Regions from separate parts of the Homo sapiens genome. Here region 1 is linked to region 2. The links are contacts of gene promoters, found by promoter capture Hi-C in human tissues and cell types (Jung and others, 2019). All regions are on one chromosome and are shown on one strand. Each heading gives the region's core, a stretch centred on a gene start or on the middle of the fragment in contact. The rest is flanking DNA. Distances are from core to core; before and after follow the strand shown. Region 1 overlaps GAS7 (growth arrest specific 7). Region 2 holds the start of RCVRN (recoverin).

What was found. Contacts are between HindIII fragments. The study calls those that stand out against the background at their distance.
Region 1: a contact is called between a fragment that was not itself captured here and the fragment with the promoter of RCVRN in region 2, in 3 of the 25 tissues and cell types used here (bladder, dorsolateral prefrontal cortex and thymus).

Annotation. Positions count from the first base shown.
Region 1 is chr17:10,009,722-10,014,992 of GRCh38, reverse strand. The region is part of intron 2 of GAS7 (growth arrest specific 7); the gene reads left to right. Among named protein-coding and RNA genes, the nearest start is that of RCVRN, 110 kb to the right of the region's middle. The HindIII fragment of the contact is 7,446 bases long and covers 1-5,271 here.
Region 2 is chr17:9,902,016-9,906,680 of GRCh38, reverse strand. It overlaps RCVRN (recoverin), which reads left to right and starts at 1,410. Exons shown (of 3, transcript NM_002903.3): 1 at 1,410-1,881. The coding sequence starts at 1,501. The HindIII fragment of the contact is 14,018 bases long and covers 1-4,665 here.

The DNA.
Region 1 (5,271 bases), core at 2,309-4,808, 110 kb before region 2:
TAGTAGAGACAGGGTTTCACCATGTTGGCCAGCATGGTCTTGATTTCCTGACCTCATGATCCACCCCTCCTCAGCCTCCCAAAGTGCTGGGATTACAGGCGTGAGTCACCGCACCTGGCTGGCTAATCTGCTTATTTTCACATCCATTTAGGATTTTATGGATGAGGTTGTCACTGTGCTAGCCACTGAGCCGGGCTCTGGGGATCCAAAATCAAACTAGATGCTGTCTGTGATCTCAGAACCTGCAGTTCTAATAGGGCCAGAGACACATATAAACCTATAAGTGTTACAGGTATTCGTGTGGAAATCTGGGGGCTCGAGGAAGGGAGTAGTCAGCTTGATCTGGGTATTAACCAAGTCTTTGCAGGGGGAGGGGGCGGCCTTGACTCAGGCATTCCAAGCCAAGGTTACAGCATGAGTAAAGACCAGGCAGGAGAGAAAAACAGCGGATGTGTTTGGCATTGGTTAAGGAAGAAAGAGGTGAGAGAGAGAGTCAGGGGCCTTGGGGCATTTTGAGGAGTCAGGTCTTTATCCTGTAGGCAGCGGGAATCCATGGGAAATTTCCAGGCGGTGGCGTGACATGATCAGAATATTGTGGCAAGGCTGCTTGTGCGGCAGAGCGAAGGCTTTAAGGCCGGTAAGCGTGGAGGCCGACAGACTAAATGAGAGGAGAAATAATGAGGTCAAACACCAATTCTACAGCAGTGGCTGGAGAGGAGGAGGTAGAATCTGTCAGACAGGATGTGGCTGTGGCAGGTCAGGGATTGGAAGTGCCTGGATTCCTCCGGGTTTTCTGCCTTGTGTGATGGGACCATACAGTGAGTATAGGGTATTCAAGGGAGGAACAGGTTAGGAAGAAAGAAAAATGAGTCCATGCTGAGTGTGTGGTTCCCTGGGGTGCGTTCTGGGAGAGATGGCTGGCATTTGGATGGCTACGGTGTGACTTAGAGGACTTCTGAGCTAGAGATGGGAACTTGGTGAGCCATGTGGGTACATGGCCTGGCCACTGTTGCGCAGTGACCAACCTGCCCAGCCACAGAGGGTGGCCCAGGATTTGTGTTTCATCAGCAGAGAGGTGAAGTGATGAGGATGTAGAAGATCACCCGGGGCCTTGCAGCACAGGTGTAAGGCAGCAGCCAAGGAGACCTTGAAGGAATTGTCAGAGATACAAGGAATCCAGGAGAAGGTAATGTCATCAAAGGCAAGGGAGAATAGATAGGGAGGGGTAGTCAGGGACAGACTGAAATATAGATCAGGTTTATGATAAGAGTGTTGTTTTAAATCACTGGGGAAAGCATGGATTATTTAGTAAACGGCGTTGGGCCAGATGGCTAACAGGAAGTTTCAGTGGTTAATGCAGTAATGCCGTTGCTTTCATATAAACTTGCCAATGCCATCAGAGCATGCTCCGTGGACTTTGGGAAGTCCCCATCTTTCTTGTGGCTCTCTGGAAATTTCATCATGCAGAGTGGCCTTCAGTTCAGCCCCAGGAACTCCCAGGGTTTTGGTATCAGGAAATTGCTTGTCTTGTGCTGTCCAGGGAAGCTCTCCATTCCCACCAAAAGTTGCCTGTGTTGCTAACGGTTTGGGATAGTGAGCTATTATCAATAGCCTACCCCATCCAGGGACCTCAGCTAGTGTTAAGGAGACTGTCTTAGTCTGTGCAGGCTGCACTAACAAAAAGCCATAGACTGGATGACTTATAAACAATGGAAATTTATTTATCACAGTTCAGGAGGATGGGAAGTCCAGGATCAAGGTGCTGGCAGATTTGGTGTCGGGTGTGGGCCTGCTTTCTGGTTCATAAGAACAGCTGCATTCTGACGTGGTGGAAAGGACAAACAAGATCCTCTGGGTTTCTCTTTTTTTAATTTTTTTTTTTTTTTTTTTGAGACAGAGTCTCGGTCTGTCACCCAGGCTGGAGTGCAGTGGCACGATCTCGGCTCACTGCAACCTCCATCTCCTGGATTCAAGCGATTCTCCTGCCTCGGCCTCCCGAGTAGCTGGAACTATAAGTGCCCGCCACCACGCCCGGCTAATTTTTTGTATTTTTTAGTAGAGACGGGGTTTCACAGTGTTAGCCAGGATGGTCTCGATCTCCTGATCTCGTGATTCACCTGCCTCGGCCTCCCAAGGTGCTGGGATTACAGGCGTGAGCCACCGCGCCCTGCCTGGGTTTCTCTTTTAATGGCACTAACCCCATGATGGTGGAGCCTGCATGACTTAGTCACCTCCTAAAAGTGCCGCCGCTTCATACTGGCACATGGGGAATTAGGTTTCAACACGTGAATTTGGAGGGGACACAAACATTCAGACCACGACAGGGACCTCTTATTTATACAACAAATAATTATATTTCAAGAGATATAGCACAACATTTTTTGCTCCATTTATGATTGAAAGGTCGGCTGGGTGTGGTGGCTCTCACCTGTAATCCAGCACTTTGGGAAGCCGAGGTGGGCAGATCACTTGAGCCCAGGAGCTCAAGACCAGCCTGGGGACCATGGTGAAACCCCGTCTCTATTAAAAATACAAAAATTAGCCGGGTGTGGTGGCGCACACCTGTAGTCCCAGCTACTTGGGAGGCTGAGGTGGAAGGATCACTTGAGCCCAGGAGGCAGAGGTTGCAATGAACCGAAATCACACCATTGCTCTCCAGCCTGGGTGACAGAGCAAGCCACTGTCTCAAATAAATAAATAAAATAAAAATATAACTGGAAGGCCAGGCATGCATGCTTCTTCACTTAATATAGTCATAGGTATTCAGGCCCTCTTTTTGGAGAGATGCTGACCTTTTAGATATGTTTAGGATACATTTTACCATTTGGACATTAGGGATATTTGAAGCCAGTATAGATAGATGGCCAAGATTAGTTTAGTTTAATGTATTAGTCAAGATTTTACTTCTTATTTATTAATCTTTTTATACTCTAAATCCAGTAGTTTTATCTGTGCCATTCTTTTTTTTTAAACAAAGAGTACCATTTGAGATGGTATCTTTTGTTTTTTTTTTTTTTGAGATGGAGTTTCACTCTTGTTGCCCAAGCTGGAGTGCAATGGTGCAATCTCGGCCCACACAACCTCCACCTCCCAGGTTCAAGCGATTCTCCTGCCTCAGCCTCCCTAGTAGCTGGGACCACAGGCATGTGCCACCACGCCTGGCTAATTTTGTATTTTTAGTAGAGACGGGGTTTCTCCATGTTGGTCAGGCTGGTCTCGAACTTCCGACCTCAGGTGATCCACCCGCCTCGGCCTCCCAAAGTGCTGGGATTACAGGCATGAGCCACCGCACCCGGCCTTGAGATGGTATCTTAACCCTTTCTCCCCCACTATAAAGCAGAGCCTGATGCAAGGATTGAGTGTTAACACCTTATTTAGGAGGTATCAGTACAAAGTGGTGAGGGTAGGTATGCAAGGGAAGGAAAGCCAAAGAACAATGCCAAGTGATGCTGGCTGGTGTTTGACAGTGAAATGCAGAGTCCCAGCCGGTCACTTAGTGGATATGTTCACTTCTGGAAGGGCTGCAAGGAGGAGCCGTAGCCTGGAGTAGTCTGCAGGAAAGCAGAGATGTTTTATCTACTCACCTCTGTCTTGTCTCCTATTTCACACTGGCCAAGCCCCTCCCCTTGCACAGCTATTTCCCTACACATTTGGTTTGTACCATCTGACTCCTACCAAGCTCTCAGAAAGCCAGATTCCACCATGCAGAGTGATGCTTCATCCAAGCCCAAGGCAGTGGTCAGCAGAGCATGAGTGAGGTACCAAGCAAAACAGAAGGTGGCTGTTGATGGAACTATGAAGAGTCCAGTGCCTGTGTCCCTAGGCAGAGACTCTCCTAGAACTGAGTGCTGTGGTGAACATCTGTTTCCACCCTCAGACCTTGATAACTTGATCTTTCATAAAAGTGGGTTGCAGAGGCTAGTGATTTTGCTTCATAATCATCCTAGGAGGAAACTTCTAAATCCTCTAACTCAGGGGTTGGCAAACTGTGGCCTATGGGCCAAATTCAACTCACAGCTGTTTTTGTAAATGAAGCTTTCTTTATTGGAACACAGCCATGCCCTTTTGTTTACATATTGTCTATGGCTGGTTTTGCACGGAGATTGTAGAGCTGAGTACAAGCTGTCTCCAACTTAAAATGGTTGGACTTAACGATCTGACTTGGTGTAAAAGTGATACTCATTCACTAGAAACTGTACTTTAGTTCAGTATTCAATAAATTACAAGAGATGTATAACACTTCACTACAAAATAGGCTTTATGATAGATGATTTTGCCCAACTGTAGGCTAACGGAAGTGTTCTGGGCACGTCTAAGGTAGGTGAGGCGAAGCTATAGTATTCAGTAGTTTAGGTGTAATACATGCATTTTTGACATACAATATTTGCAAGTTACAATGGGTTTCTCAGTATATAGCCCTGTCATAAGTTGAGGGTATCTGTAGTTGCAGCAGAGACCACGTGGCTCACAAAGTGAAAATATTTACTCTCTGACCCTTAACAGAAAAAGTTTGACAATACCTGGTTTAAGAAATAGAATCAGGCTGGGCGCGGTGGCTCATGCCTGTAAACCCAGCACTTTGGGAGGCTGAGGCGGGCGGATCACCAGGTCAGGAGATCAAGACCATCCTGGCTAACACGGTGAAACCCTGTCTCTACTAAAAAAACACAAAAATTTAGCCCGGCGTGGTGGCGGGTGCCTGTAAGTCCCAGCTACTCGGGAGGCTGAGGCAGGAGAATGGCGTGAACCCAGGAGGTGGAGCTTGCAGTGAGCCAAGATCACGCCACTGCACTCCAGCCTGGGCAACAGAGGGAGACGCCCCCCCAAAAAAGAAAGAAAAAAAAAAAGAAATAGAACCTGTTTGTTTTACATATATAGAAATGAAGTCCCTGCATGGTAAAGGGACTTGATCCAAGCTATCTGGTCATTTATAAGCCAAGCTGTGACCAGACTGCCCAGTCTTCTAATCTTTTCTTTTTTGCCTCAGTATTTGGAGGAATGGGCATGGGTGGCAGTGACTTAAGTTGGAATGAGAATAACTGAGTTTGTGGATTAGTAGATAAAGAAAAATAATCTGAAATAACAATTTTTTAAGGGAAACCTATGCATCTTTTTAAAGCATGAACCCAAGTCCAGGAGAGTTGAAAATTGTTTTTAAGCTTTTTTATTTTATTTTATTTTTTTAGTTGACTTCCTGGGCTCAAGTAATCCTTCCACCTTAGCCTTCCAAGTAGCTGGGACCATGGGCATATGTCACCACACCAGGCTACT
Region 2 (4,665 bases), core at 161-2,660:
CTCCAAGTCCACTGCAGACGGACACCCTGCAGCCTGCCATGGACCCACAGATAGATTGTGTTTGGCCCACACCATGTTTTGTTTTGTTTTTGTTTTTGTTTTTGTTTTGTTTTTTTGAGATGGAGTCTCACACTTGTCACCCAGGCTGGAGTGCAATGGTGCAATCTCGGCTCACTGCAACCTCTGCCTCCCGGGTTCAAGCGATTCTCCAGCCTCAGCCTCCCAAGTAGCTGGGATTACAGTCACCTGCCACCATGCCCGGCTAATTTTTTGTATTTTTAGTAGAGACAGGGTTTCACCATGTTGGCCAGGCTGGTCTCGAACTCCTAACCTTGTAATCTCCCCACTCAGTCTCCCAAAGTGCTGGGATTACAGACGTGAGCCACCATTAAAATTTTGAATTAATTGCCAAAGTTGAAAAGTGTGGAAATTGCAAGAAAAATTCTGATTTTTGGATTTCTCTTGAATAATTTAAAAAAACCCAAAAATCTCACCATCCCATGTGACCACGTTCTCTGGCAGCCCCTTCCCGAGGTGACACAGGCCTGGCTGCCCCCTGCTGGTCCCTTCAGGCAGTTCACCTTCACTCCCTGTGACTGATGGACAATAACAAAACGAGTGTTTAGCATTAGCCATGTGCCAGTTTCTAAGTGTGTCAGACATATTGACTCACATCAGCCTCACAATGACAGTGTGGTAGATGCTATGATGCCCATTTATTCAAGAAAGACTTGCTGGGGGCCCAAGCCTATCAGGTTCTGGCAATGGAAATGCATCCGGGAACAACACAGACAAAATCCCATCCTTCACGGAGCTTTCATTCCGGTGAGGGGACATGCAGCGTGCCGATGATGGTGGGGGTTGTGCTATTATAGATAGAGGGTCAGTATAGGCCTGGCTGAGCAGGTGACATTTAAGCAGAGACATGACTGCAGTGAAGGTTTAGAAGAGTGTCCCAGGTGGAAAGAGGTGAAGAAACAAGCCTGGGGCCACACAGCTAGTTAAGTAGCCAAGCTGGGACTTGAACCCATGCTGGCCCCAGAGTCTGTGCTCCTAACCATTGCATTCTAGGGCTTGATATGAGATGCCAGCCCCGCCCCGAGATGCTCAGAGTTAGTGAGGAAGAGAAACAGGGAACATGGCTGCTGTTAGAGGGCTGGGGCTGGGGGTGCCGGAGGCCCCAGCTCTGAGGGTTCCAACCTCCTGTCCTGTTCTAGTATCGTCCCGGGAGGCCGAGATGAATTGCCTGCCTGCCCTGGGCTCTTTATTTTAATCTCACTAGGGTTCTGGGAGCACCCCCCCCCACCGCTCCCGCCCTCCACAAAGCTCCTGGGCCCCTCCTCCCTTCAAGGATTGCGAAGAACTGGTCGCAAATCCTCCTAAGCCACCAGCATCTCGGTCTTCAGCTCACACCAGCCTTGAGCCCAGCCTGCGGCCAGGGGACCACGCACGTCCCACCCACCCAGCGACTCCCCAGCCGCTGCCCACTCTTCCTCACTCATGGGGAACAGCAAAAGTGGGGCCCTGTCCAAGGAGATCCTGGAGGAGCTGCAGCTGAACACCAAGTTCTCGGAGGAGGAGCTGTGCTCCTGGTACCAGTCCTTCCTGAAGGACTGTCCCACCGGCCGCATCACCCAGCAGCAGTTCCAGAGCATCTACGCCAAGTTCTTCCCCGACACCGACCCCAAGGCCTACGCCCAGCATGTGTTCCGCAGCTTCGATTCCAACCTCGACGGCACCCTGGACTTCAAGGAGTACGTCATCGCCCTGCACATGACCACCGCGGGCAAGACCAACCAGAAGCTGGAGTGGGCCTTCTCCCTCTACGACGTGGACGGTAACGGGACCATCAGCAAGAATGAAGTGCTGGAGATCGTCATGGTCAGTCTCCCCTCTCCCCTTCTGGCTGGGCGGTGCCGGGGTCGCTCCGGGCTGGGGGTCCCCTGCTGCAGCTGCTGCAGAGGGAGTGGATCTGTGGGTGGAGCGGGGGATGCGGGCCACTGGCTCTGAGAGCGTGGTGCTCCGAGATGCTGATATTGATAGAGGGGTGGGCACTTGCCCACAGCTTCGTTGTCTTCCCGGAGCAGAATCTGAGTGTTTCCTAATACAGCCATGTTATGCTTGGCTTCACGATGTTTGGGTCAACAACGGACGATATAGACCACTGTGGTCCCATAAGATTGTAATGGAGCTGAAAAATTCCTACTGCCTAGTGACGTCATAGCACAGTTACTTTATTTTTCAAATGCATTTAGTGTAGCCTAAGTGTATCCGTAAAGTCTGTAGTTGTGTACGGTAATGTCCTAGTTCTTCACATTCACTCACTACTCACTCACTGACTCACCCAGAGCAACTCCCAGTCCTGCAAGCTCCACTCATGGTGAGTGCCCTAGACAGGTCTACCATTTTGTATCTTGGTTTTTTATTTTTTATTTTTTTGAGATGGAGTCTCACTCTGTAGCCCAGAGCTGGAGTGCAATAGTGCGATCTTGGCTCACTGCAACCTCTGCCTCCCGAGTTCAAGCAATTCTCCTGTCTCAGCCTCCCGAGTAGCTGGGATTACAGGTGTGCACCACTATGCCTAGCTAATTTTTGTATTTTTAGTAGAGACGGGGTTTCACCATGTTGGTCAGGCTGGTCTCAAACTCCCGACCTCCAGCGATCCGCCAGCCTCAGCCTCCCAAAGTGCTGGGATTTACAGGCATGAGCCACTGTGCCCGGCCCATTTTTTATCTTTATACTGTATTTTTACTGCATGATTTCTATGTTTAGCTATGTTTAGATGCACAAATACTTACCATCGTGTGACAACTGCCTGCAACATTCAGGACAGTCACGTGCTGCACAGGTTTGTAGCCTAGGAGCAAAAGGCTGGACCATGGAGCTCAGGGATGTAGTCGGCTCTACCATCTGTGTTCGTGCAAGGATGCTCTATGATGTTCCCACATAGAAGTTGCCTTAAGATGTGTTTCTCGGAATGTATTCCTGTCTCTGAGCGACACGTGACTATATTTACATTTTTTCTTTCTCTCCATCCTTTGTTTCTTCCTTCCTTTATTAAAATGTCCTTTGAAATTTTCAGCAGTACACATTCAAGTTGAATCACTGTTCATTCTAAACACACAATATGCTTCTAATATAAAGTAGAAAGAGGTCAAAGTTGGGGGCATGAACTCTGAGTTCTAGTCCTCATGTTCTCCCCAGCGCGGGGCGGATCATGGCACCACGCATGAGCCCCCGCTTCCCACGCGCGGCGTGGCTCCCCGGCTCCTGACAGTTTCCCTGTGAGGCGCACAGGCTTCCATATGGTTCCCAACACGCCTTCTCCCCTGTCCATACTGTCCTCCTGTCAGATCCTTTGTTGTGAAAGTAATGGCAAAAACCATAATTACTTTTCCACTAACCTCGTAGGTGTCTTGAAAATGGTTTATCTGATATAAAAGTAACTCATGAAATTTAGAAACCTAGGCAAAAGAGACTAACAATTGCCTCTAATTCCAACATCCAGGGAAAACTTTTCTTAGTATATCAGTATATACCTTTTCAGTCTTTTACCTATATAATTTTAAATAATGTTAAAGCTATGACATATTCACATACGATTTTTTATCATACATTTTTCAGTTACTCTTTTATCATGAGTGCTTTCCATATCATTACATATTCTTCCAAAACACTTTTTTTTTTTCTTCAGACAGAGTTTTGCTCTTGTCGCCCAGGCTGGAGTGCAGTGGCGTGATCTCAGCTCACTGCAACCTCCCCCTCCTGGGTTTGAGCAATTCTCCTGCCTCAGCCTCACGAGTAGCTGGGATTACAGGCACCTGCCCAGCTAATTTTTGTATTTTAGTAGAGACGGGGTTTCACCATGTTGGCCAGGCTGGTCTCGAACTCCTGACCTCAGGTGATCTGCCCGCCTCGGCCTCCCAAAGTGCTGGGATTACAGGCGTGAGCTTCCGCACCCAACCTCTTCCAAAACTCTTTTAATAGCTGCTTGGAATTCTGGCTTATGGAAATGTGGAAATTATTGAACATTCCTATGTTTTTGGACATTAGGTTGTTTCCATTTCTTTCCTATTATACCAGTTCTAATTTCCTTCATTTGATTTTTTTTTAATTTATTCTTTTTCAGTCCCCCTGCCCCTGCCACTTACCTTATTCTTCTAATTCCATTCCTGTTAGTAGAGACTATTGTTTAGATGTTAATAACTTTGTGTGCATTGGCAATCATGCTTTCATTTGCATGATGACAAATGCACAAAAATCTTCCACAGTTATTAGGAGAAATCATAAATAAAACAGCAGAGCATGCAGCTTGTGGTCCATGGGCTTATCCTCAATGCTCAGCTCGGGCCTCCCATTCTGGCAGGCATGTGTCTCTCTCATTGTTATCTTGGCACAGCCTGCAGAGAAAGCTCCCTCGGATTGGCTGTGGGGTCTCTGGGTGGCCTGGGACAGGGACTAAGTCTTCAGAGTGGCATAAACAATGCAGGGCCCAGCAGAAGCCTACAAATTGATACTCATTGAATAAAAGGAGGAGGAAAGGGAGGAGGGGGAAATGAGGGAGGGAGAGAGGGAAGGTAGGAGTCAGGAAGGAAAGAGGGGGAAGCAAGGGGAAGGAGAGAAGGAAGGGAGGGAGGAGAAGGAAAGGAGGAGAGAAAGGAAGAA